Regions from separate parts of the Homo sapiens genome. Here region 2 is linked to region 1. Evidence: promoter capture Hi-C in human tissues and cell types (Jung and others, 2019). All regions are on one chromosome and are shown on one strand. Each heading gives the region's core, a stretch centred on a gene start or on the middle of the fragment in contact. The rest is flanking DNA. Distances are from core to core; before and after follow the strand shown. Region 1 holds the start of GBX2 (gastrulation brain homeobox 2). Region 2 has its middle 50 kb from the start of ARL4C.

Region 1 (5,256 bases), core at 1,987-4,486:
AGTACTGGTCCCAGACCAGTTGCCCGGCCACACCCTGGCAGTGCCCGGGACGGTCAAATTCTGGACACACTTATGAGGCCCAGGGATTGGTCTTTTTCCCCCCCTCTCTCCTTTTTATTATTCACAAGACTGAAATTGTTTAAATGTCATAACTTATAAGAAAATAAGCTACATTGAAATAAATTAACACAACGGAGACGTGCTTCACATGGCTCAGATAGGATAGGCAACCCCAGGGGAAACCAAAGCCAGGCAAAAGCAAAGCAAAGCAAAGCGAATTTCCAGGCTGCCTAACAATGTCTGCTTTTCAGTCAACTCAAAAAGCCAGAACGCAAACCAAAATCAGTTTAAACCCCAGTGCTTGTTCTTGGGTTTCACGTTTACCTTTGGAAAAGTATGGAAAGGTGGCTGCTAACCGCGCAGATTACAGCAGAGGTTTTGTTTTCTTCTGGAATGAGTGGAGAAATTACTGGGTAATTAAGTCCTATAACTTTCAAAATACTGCAGCTGAGATCCAGTCTATAGAGATATTTATGTACAAAGTAGGATAGTATAATAAATATTTAGCGTGTCTTCTGGTGTGGCTGTAAGCCCCTTCAAAAGCAGTCTTTTAAGCCCATTTAGTGAATATATTCTCAATTTGCTTGGGATGGCCACAGCTGGGCTGTGACTTTGTTGCTTCAAACACAGTGGAGTCCACCATGGGTTCCCTCGGGTGCGGGGGCTTCTCCAGGTGGGTGCCAGGCCCTGGCCCTTCTGGACCCTCAGGGCCGGGCCTGTTCTAGCTGCTGATGCTGACTTCTGATAGCGAACCTGCTGACGTGGACAGGGATGGGGACGACGATCTTAGGGTTCCGGGAGGGCTCCCCTGTCTTGGAATTGGCATTGCCTGCCTTCACCCGTTTCCACTTGGCCCGTCGGTTCTGGAACCAGATTTTCACCTGCACCTCGCTGAGTTTGAGGGCGTGGGCGATCTGCGAGCGCTCGGTCAAGGAGAGGTACTTTTTGCAGTGGAACTCCTTCTCTAGCTCCAGCAGCTGCTCGCTGGTGAAGGCAGTCCGCCGCCGCCGGTTCTTGCCCGTAGACGTGGTGCTGCCCGCGGCGCCGCTGCTCGGCGGGGTCTCCTCCAGCGCGTGGCCCGGGTCTTCCTCCTTGTGAGCTGCCTGGCCAGTCAGATTGTCATCCGAGCTGTAGTCCACATCGCTCTCCAGCGAGAAGCTCTCCTCCTTGCCCTTCGGGTCGTCTTCCACCTTTGACTCGTCTTTCCCTTGCCCTCGGACAGCCCCGACTGAAAGCAAAACCAAACGGCATTTTATTACATTTCGCACACTGGCCTTCCTTTCTCCTTCCCACCGTCATTTGGACATTCCGCGCCCCCCGCCCCCCACCCTTTAGCGGATTGTCTTTCTATGACATTAACACATTGTGATTTCCTGGCCTTTGAGGGGTAGAGGAGGGGTGGGGGGAGCGTGAGAAAGCTCAAAGGAGAGGAGGCAGTACAGGCGACGGCCCTTTGCCCAGAACCATCACTCAAAGGGCCGCCATGCCTCCCCCGCACCCTCCCAGCCTCGGCAGCGTCAGGAGAAGTAGCAGGAGGCGCGAGGCCCAAGAGATTGCCCGCTTTGTCCCTGGGGTGGGGACTGGTTGAGGACTGATGGGGGGATTCACGATTCATCCTCCCCCCACCGCCACCATGAAAATGTAGTGAACCTCAATTGCTTCCTAACCGGAGTGGAGGCGTAGGGACGTGCAGATCCCAGACCATCTTTTTTGAGACAGACAACGTTGGTCAAAGGGATGTTTTGTGGCCTTATAAGTTCCCACCAGACACCCCCAACACAAACACACAGGCACAGCCTCCCAGCAGTCCGTTTCTCCCAGACAAGTAGCAAGACCAGCGAAGGGGTTTAAAAAGTCTGGGCGCCCCTGGGCACACGCACGGCTGAGACGCGCAGCCCAACCCGTCTCCCCTAGAGGCTGCAACCTACCCGGAACCCCAGGTCACCGCGGAGCGGCAGAGGCGGCCTCGGCCAAACGCATCGTCAGATAGATATGTGGCCCAGGGCAGCAGCTGGTCGCCGGGCGCTAAACGCCCCCCCTCCCGAGACCCCGCTTGTTGGGTGGCTCTGAATGTCCCCCGGAGGCCCAGCGGCACAGCCGGGCCTCATCCTCCAGCTCCTCCCGCGGGGGTCGAGCGGGGGCGCGGCCTCGCCCCCTTGGTCTCCCGCGGGAACCCGGCGCTGGCCCGCCCCCGCCTCCTCCCGCCCCCTCGTCCCGGCTGCGCGCGCCGCCGACTCACCGAGCGAAGCCTGCACCGTCTCGGCCGCGGAGAAGGCGAGCAGCGAGCCCTCTTTGGCCAGGAAGCCTTTGCCGTCCTCCGCGTCAGCCTGCAGCGCCTCCGCCTTGTCGAAGTTACCGCCGCCGGGCAGCGGCTGCGGCGCGAACTTGCGGGCCGCTGCCGCCTCCTGGTGCTGGGGCGACGCGGAGAAGCCGCCGGGGAGCGTGGCCATGAGCGTAGAGGTGAGCGCCATGCCCTGCGCCAGGCTGGAGCAGAAGCCTGTGGGCAGGCTGGGGATCTGGTGGTGAGGGTGTGCGGGCGGCAGCGCTGGCTGCAGCGCGGCCTGGGGCAGCGCGGGCGGCGGCGGCGGCGGCGGCGGCAGCACTACCGGCCGGTAGGGCATGAACATGGGGTAGCCGGTGTAGACGAAATGGCCGGGGCTGGGCTGCGGCGGGCTGCCGATCAGCGAGTCTATGCTGAAGGCGGTGCTACTCCCCAGCGGGCGCTGCATCATCATCAGCGACGGCGGGAACGCTGCGCTCATAGACGCGCTCGGTAGAGGCCAGCGAGAGGCGAAAAGTCCCCGCGCCGCGCCGCCGCCGGGAAGCCCGCCGGACGCCGGGAGCACCGCCGGGAGCGCCGGGCAGGGGCCGAGCGGGACCCGGAGAGCAGACGCCTCCGCCCCTCAGTCCTGGGCCCGCTGCATGCCGGGCGGGTGCAGGGGGTGTGCGGGGTGAGGCCGTGCGCCCCGGAGTGGAGAGGGCGCCCGGGCCCCGAGGGCTCGCCGGAGCCCCCGTCCGCCGCTTGCCCGTCGGAGCCCGCGCGCTTCGCGGGTTTGGCCCTCGGCCCCGGTAAGCTGCCGTCCGTCCGTCCGTCCCGCCGTCCGTCGCCTCCCGCGGGCCGCTGGGGAGCGCGCGAAGCCGGCGTACTTATCTCCGGCGGGCGCAGCCAGCACCTTTAAATCGCGCTCCTCTTTCTCATTCACATTTTGCCTGCCGCCTGGCCCGGCTCGCCTCACGTGGGGCTGGGCGCCTCTGGCCATTGGCTGAGCGGGGCGGGGGTGGGGCGAAAGCGGGGCCCCGCCCTTTCCACCCAAGCTGGCCTCGAGCGGGCTGCGGGCGCCACCGTCGGAGCGCGCGGGCCGGGGAGCCGGAGCCTGCATGCCTAGCCCGTGCCGCGCAAACTTGAGACGGGCGGATGGCACCTCCAAGGCTCGGACCTTGGGGCCCTGCAGCCTTGTCGAGGCCACCTCGAAGGGTAGCCTCCGGGGCCCGCACCCCCACGGCTGGGCCGGGGGCGCTTTATTTCTTTTACTGTATTTGCCATGGAACCAACCTGCCTGCGGCTCACTCCAGCGCTGGGTGCTCCGGCTGCGCCTGGGGTCCGGGCGAGGGTCCTGGAGTTGGGGGCAGGGTCCTGCCCCTCCGGAGCCACCCCCGGGGCGAAGGCTGGGAGCTGGCAGCGCCTGCCCGCCGCCAGAAACCCGCCGGGTTGCTCGCTGTAGGTCCGCGCACCGGGTGGGGCGGGGAGGCTGCTGCTTCCCCCATCCCGGGCTGGGCCCTCCCGTGAGCGATCCCGTCTCTCATTTTTCATGACATTCTTAATCATCGCACCTATTTACACACTTTGCCAGCGCGCACCAAAATAACAACCACGATAATTATGATAATAAAGAGAGTCCTTTATCTGCTCCATCCTCGGGGAGGAAGGGGGGAGTTGCTGTGCCTCCAGATTGTATAACGTGAGATTATCCTGATGAAAGCTTTATGATGTTTGCTCAAATAAAAGCTGCGTTTTGTAAATAGGCGCTAATTAAGCACGTTGCGAACGCAAGGAGTGCTCACCCTGGCGCCGCCGCCCGGTTTCCAGCGCGAGGACTCGAGGGCGCGCGGTTCCTCTTTGCTAACTGCAGGATGGAGCCGATCCCCTCAGGATGTTTCCCCTGTTCTCGACAACGGTAAAGACCCCCAAATTTGAAAGTAAGGGAATTTTGGGGTGGAGGGAAACTAGGGACGTACTTATCCCCTCTTCCATTTTCAAACAAAAAACTTTCAGCTCTTGTCTTCCCTTTAAAAATGGAATCACTTCTTGACAACGGCAGACCGTGCAGAGCGCACCAGCGCGAGCGGGGCTTCCTCGAGTCTCCAAGGCCCGGGCTTCAACTTCCCGGGTCTAGACGTCAGCCCTGAACCGCCAACAGCACCGGGTTGGGGAGAAGGAAAGAAGGGCATTGTTAGTTCGGTCATTAAAAATCAGCTCACGCCGAGGAGCTAGTGGTTGGGGAGTTGGCCCGTGTTGGACGTGTGTTATGTATCACTTACAAGCACATTTAATTGGGAGATAAAGATAAATCGATCTTTATGAATTTATCGACCCGATTCTTTGAAGCTCTTTTTTCGCGTTCTTCCTCTTTCTCTCGCTCTAGCCCCAAGGCCCCCCGGGGGACGTCTTAATCCCAGATCAGCTCCTCTGCCAGGAGTCCCGCCGGAGACCCACTGCCCACCCAGCAGACCTGGAGGAAAGAGGGGAGGGTGTGTCCTTGGCGCCCCGGGACGCTGGGAAAACTCGCTGGTCCGCCGCCAGCCCTCTCCTCCTCCTCGCCTCCTCCCTCCCTACCACCACCCGGACAAAGACGTCTCGATCGCGTTTCCCCACTCCAGGCCGCAGTAATAGATCGCTCCGGCAGCAGGCGGTTTGAAAGGAATTCATTAGGACGCTGCCTGGATTGCCTCCCCTGACTTCACGCCCAGACCCCGAGGTGGCTTAGGCAGTGTGAGGGGAAATGAATTCCCTTTGGGATCCATGGAGAAGGAGGTGTCTGTGGGATCTCCAGGCTCTATCCCTCCTTCTTCACTCCCAGAAAAGAAGAAAAAGAAAAAAAAAATCGAAGCCCAGGGCAAAAGGCTGATATCTTTATGAGCATAATAAATACTCCCCCTCATTATGAGATAGTTACAGTGACACAGCCTTGGGTGCCA
Region 2 (5,256 bases), core at 1,225-3,724, 1.6 Mb before region 1:
GAATTTGGCTCTCTAGATACGGCTTTTTTGGTCTGGAATGCTGAATCAGTAGCCAAAGTCATCAAAGACCGTCTCTTTCTCAAGGATCCCCAGTGTGGAAGCGGGACCCACCCAGCAAACCCATGCAGCATCAGGCAGCGCAGGGTTTTCATCCCGCTAGGAGCCTGCCCCCTGGTGGTGAAGAGAAGAAACGCAGAGCGAGAACCAGAGCCGGGCCGGGATGTCCCTGGGGCGGATGTCAGGGTTCACCTGGGGCTGCTTTGCCCCTGCGTGCAGCACCGCCCAGTAGGGCTGCTTACCTGTCCCACCCGTGCGCGCCCGCGGGTTCTAAACTCATTTTAACACTTGGTTAAGCAAAAACCAATTTGAGAAAATAAATGAGCTTGTAGGGTGTTTGAAAGCTAAATGGATTGATTTTGGATTGAGAACTACAGTGCTCTCAGGTTTTATATGGCACAGGATTACACACACCCAGGAGGAGCTGTGTGGTAATTATGACTAGAATCAGAAATTGCACCGTAAAAAGCTCATCTGAATAGATCCGGATTTACCGACACGGAAGACGGTCAGTTTCCCGGGAGGCCGGAAGACTGGGTATAGAATGAGCTTTCCTGGTGATCTCTAACAAACAAAAGGTGTCTGTGCTCTTGCAAGTGAAGGAAAACATTCTGAAGGGGGATGGTGAGCTCTGTTTTAAGTCATAACATTGAAGTACTTTGGGGTTATTTTTTGAGTGTCTGTATTTTCTGACTTCTCTATATTGTATTTCTGCAGCTCTCTCCCAGTTTTCTTTAGGGAAGCCCTAACTTAGACTCTCATGAATCCCCCAAAAAGGCAAGTTGAAAAAAATAACTTTTCTTTTTTGACATTTGAGGCATTCAAATGTCACACAGAGTCTCACTCTGTCGCCCAGGCTGGCGTGCAGTGGCACGATTTCAGCTCACTGCAACCTCCACCCCCCGGGTTCAAGTGATTCTCCTGCCTCAGCCTCCTGAGTAGCTGGGACTACAGGTACCTGCCACCACACCCGGCTTATTTTGTATTTTTAGTAGAGATGGGGTTTTATCATGTTGGCCAGGCTGGTCTCGAACTCCTGACCTCAAATGATCCACCCACCTCGGCCTCCCAAAGTGCTAGGATTACAGGTGTGAGCCACCGTGCCTGGATGAAAAAAAAAAAATAAGTTTTTTAATCCAGAAGAGATGGTATCTCCTCATGGTTTCATTTAGTTTTAAAAGACCCTTCTCACTTCCATCCCTCCCTCCTCACATACAAACCTAAAATTCTTGGATCCCTGAGGATAAAAACATAGTGGCGGACTCACATCTACCTGTATAATATTCAGGCAGCTTTTCCCAATTATTAGCTGTTCTCCACAGGATGAATGGAAGGTTTCTTTTTCTCCCTACTTCAATTCTAGTTAAATAAGTGAGATGCAAGGAGGAGGAAGAATTATAACGAGTCTGTACCGTGATATTATTTCATTACAGGCTGTAAAAAAATCCTCATTATTAGTCAGTTATATCATATTAGTGATCTTGCATCGTGTGTGTGTGTGTGTGTGTGTGTGTGTGAGATCCTGCATGTGTGTGTGAGACGGATAGAGTGTCTGTGTGTTTTTGCCTGGGAGAATGTTGTTGCCACTGCTCTTATATAGGATGGTTTTAAATAAATTTCTTTGCCACTTTCAAAAGTCTGTGTCCTGGATTCACACCTTCACTCTCATTCTCTTTATTCTACTTAGTCGTCCCATTTGCCTATGTATATTTCCTAGGACCAAATGCTGTCTTTTAAAAGCCCTTCCCGAAACCTCTCTGAGATTCTTTCTTGAACAGTTTTACAAACTTACAACCCACCCAATGTGTTTACAGGTAAGGTTTGCAGCGTAGAAAACATGATCAGCACCAACTGTCACTCCTGTTGTTGCAAATTTCCTTCCCCCATTTACTGTTACACACAATGAGAATAGCAATTGGCAAGCACTGGGGAAAGACCCATCTGCCTATCTACATGTGCATGCAGTAGGAGGTGCATATGTGCATACAGCGAGCTTTTAGCCATCAGCTCACCTGAGTGCTCTGTCCTTCTCACTTCCTGCCGAGCAGACCTAGCAAACCAGGGGGAGTTCATGCTTTCTCTGCATTTGTCAGACCACATCTAGTGTGTGAGGGCTGGCTCCTTTCTTCCTTCATTCATTCTTCAAATCTTTACTGAGCTTGTCCTATATGCTAGACACTCTTCTAGACAACAGAGGGGTGGAGGTGAGAAAGACAGCCCTCCCCCTCCAGGGGCTTACACTCCAGGAATAGTGACCAACAGACAGAGTTGATTCATGCCTTGGGAAGCGTCTAACAAAGAAGAGAGAGGCAAGCAGGAAGGGAGTGGGGTGAGGAGGCCCTGGCCCTCACTAGTCTTAAGATATTCAGCTTTCCTGGAGGAGGTGTTACCTAAATCAGGTGCTGAGGAAAGCAGGTGTCATTCAGGGAGATGATGGGGGCAGTGGGGAGAGGATCTGGAGAGAGGACATCTCATGCCAAACTGAAAGGGCCCAGGGAGGAAAGGTCGGTGCACAGGGTGGTGAGGGCGTGCTGTGTGTGGTGGGCGCACAGCAGGGAAGGCAGAGGTGGATTCAAGGAAGTGAGAAGGGGCAGTATGAGGAGGTGAGGTAAACTCAGGAGAAGTTGAAGAAGCAGTCAGTTTGGCCTGAGGAAGAATCAAGGGCAATTCTTTTTGAAGCAGTGAGAGCTGCCCAAAATGCTGAAAACACAGACGCAAGGGTAGACGGATTCTGTGGCCTCCATGTCATAGGAATAGAATGAATGGCTGAAGGGCAGAAGGAGGAGTGTTGGAGGATAAATGGAAGCAGAGACAGCAGTTACTGAGCAGGTGCAACACATCAGGTGCCTTATGTGTGTCCTCCTGTTGATTCTCACAGCAATGCTGGAGTGGAACAATTATACCTTCCACCTTCCACAGGAGGTAGCTGAGGCCAGTGCACTTAGGAAACTTGCCCAATATTATGGGCTGCCAATTGGTGGAGCTGGGATTTGAACCCAGGAAGCCTGGTTCCCAGGCCTGTGCCAATGAAAGGCAACCAACCATGAAGCAGGCACCTTCTAAGGCAGTGAGGATCTCATTGCTGGAAATTTTCTAGAAGGGGGCGATATAGTGGACATTTGTGGCTAGCTCCCCAGCGCTTGTATAAGTCAGCACACTCCAATCCCTGTTTCCCCAGGGGCACCCACATGATGGAAGAGCTGGCCAGCCCCAGCTGCCATAAAAACCCTGGCCAAGGGAGGCACAGAGCGGTCCCTGGGGGCACTGGCCTACCTGACCACAGCGTCCAAAGCTCGTGGCCTCTGGGCTTTCCACTAGGAGGGGTGATTGGAAGAAAGAGTGAAAGGCATCCAGGAGCTAAATGATAAGAACTCATGAACACAAAGAAGAAAATAACAGACACGGGTCTACTTGGGGGTGGAGGGTGGGGGAAGGGAGAAGAGCAGAAGAGATCACTACTGGGTACTGGGCTTAATTCCTGGGGGATAAAATAATCTGTGCAACGGATGTCGTGACATGAGTTTACCTATGTAACAAACCTGCACATGTACCCCTGAACCCAAAATAAACGTTGACAAGAAGAAAGGCATCAAGGAATTAAATTGTTAAACTTTGGGAAAAAGTTGCAGCTCAGGCAGACTTGGAGGAGAGAGAAACCAGTGTTTTGGAGTGAGAGAGAGGAAACAGGCAGTTCTGAATTCTTTGGAGCAGTCGAGGGAGCCCAGGCAGGGGCTAAAGACACCCGCTCGAGGGCGTGGCTGCCTTCCCGAACCCCTTCGCCCTGGCCAAGGCCTCCTCCTCTATGAGAACAAAGTCAGAATTGAGAAAAACTACACACAAAAGGATAATCATCCATTCAGACGGTGAGGGTGCTGAGTGAGCTGTGTCTAGGGGAAACCAGCGGGGAGGGCCCGGGAGGAGTTTGTGCTACAGCAAGAATATTATGAAGAAGAAAATGACTTCACCAGAAAAGGGCAGCCTGAGCCTGTGGCCTCCATGGCTTCTCCAGGCTATGGGTCTGTGCTTCTCCTACAGACTCTAGTAACGTCTGAGTTGCTTGAAAAAGAAATCGAGGGGCTTTACACCCATGTTGTCACACCTGTGCTTATCATTAGCATTACAATCTGGAAAGGGGGCGGGCTGGGGAGAGAGGGAAGCTTCCTCTCCTGGGGCCCAGGGACATGTGGTCTGGAATCCTAGCAACCCAAACAGCTGGCTGCTGTACTGGCTTCTTGGCCGGTCCCCTCTCATACTCCAATATAGAGATGCAGACAGTGAGTCAATGAGTTCCCATCACTGATAAGTCACATGGTTTGGGTTTGCCTCGTTTTGTGTCTTGCAAACAAAAGCATTCTGATGGATTTGGCTGAGGTCAGTCCGCCCTCTCTCAGGGTTGCTATGGAAGGAATCTCTCCATCAGGAGGTGTGTGGACGAGGACCTCTGAGATCTCTGGCTCAACTCTAAGATTCTATTACTCCTTCGTATGATTCAAAGTTGCGTAGGTTCTTCTTCTTTCAGGTGCAGGTGGAAAACATTTAAAGACACAGAGTTTTTAAATTGTTTTATATTTTAGATTCAGGGGTTACACGTGCAGGTTTGTTTCAAGGATATATCATGTGATGCTGATGTTTGGACTTCTATTGATTCCATCACCCACATAGTGAGGGTAGTACCCAGTAGAAAGTCTTCAGCCCTTTCTCCCCACTCCCTCCCTTTCTCCCTCCTTCTCTCCTTTTGGAGTCCCCAGTGCCTATTGTTCTCATCTTTATATTTGCGTGTACCAAGGTTTAGCACCCACTTGTAAGTGAGATGTGACATTTGCCTTTTTGTTTCTGCATTACTTCATTTAGAATGATGGCCTGCAGCCACATCTATGTTGCTGCAAAGGACATAATTTCACTCTTTTTTATGGCTCCATAGTATTCCATGGTGTACATGTATGACATTTTCTTATTCAGTCCACCATTGATGGACATCTAGGTTGATTCCATGAAGAGAGACACAATCTTAATTATTTTGTCATCACAGACGTCACTAAGACAAAAAGAGGGAACATTTAACGTAAGTTCTACAACCTAATGACACCGACAGGAATTCGATCCTGGTTTTGGAAAGCTTAAATTAGACACACACACGTGCTCAGGCACACACAAAGCAGAATTCTTTGTCTAACTTAGACCCCAACTTCAGAGGGTAAG

Evidence for each region. The method cuts DNA at HindIII sites, captures the fragments that hold promoters and counts their contacts. A contact is called where the count stands out against the background at its distance.
Region 2: a contact is called between a fragment that was not itself captured here and the fragment with the promoter of GBX2 in region 1, in 1 of the 25 tissues and cell types used here (lymphoblastoid cells).

Annotation. Positions count from the first base shown.
Region 1 is chr2:236,165,150-236,170,405 of GRCh38, forward strand. It overlaps GBX2 (gastrulation brain homeobox 2), which reads right to left and starts at 3,237. Exons shown (of 2, transcript NM_001485.4): 1 at 2,300-3,237; 2 at 87-1,288. The coding sequence starts at 2,822. The coding sequence ends at 765. It overlaps GBX2-AS1 (GBX2 and ASB18 antisense RNA 1), which reads left to right and starts at 2,293. Exons shown (of 2, transcript NR_186035.1): 1 at 2,293-2,520. LOC124906126 (a long non-coding RNA gene) reads left to right here and starts at 3,877. Exons shown (of 2, transcript XR_007088136.1): 1 at 3,877-4,235; 2 at 4,380-4,647. RefSeq lists an enhancer at 1,416-2,368. The HindIII fragment of the contact is 12,753 bases long and covers 1-5,256 here.
Region 2 is chr2:234,544,940-234,550,195 of GRCh38, forward strand. No RefSeq gene overlaps it. Among named protein-coding and RNA genes, the nearest start is that of ARL4C, 50 kb to the left of the region's middle. The HindIII fragment of the contact is 4,438 bases long and covers 256-4,693 here.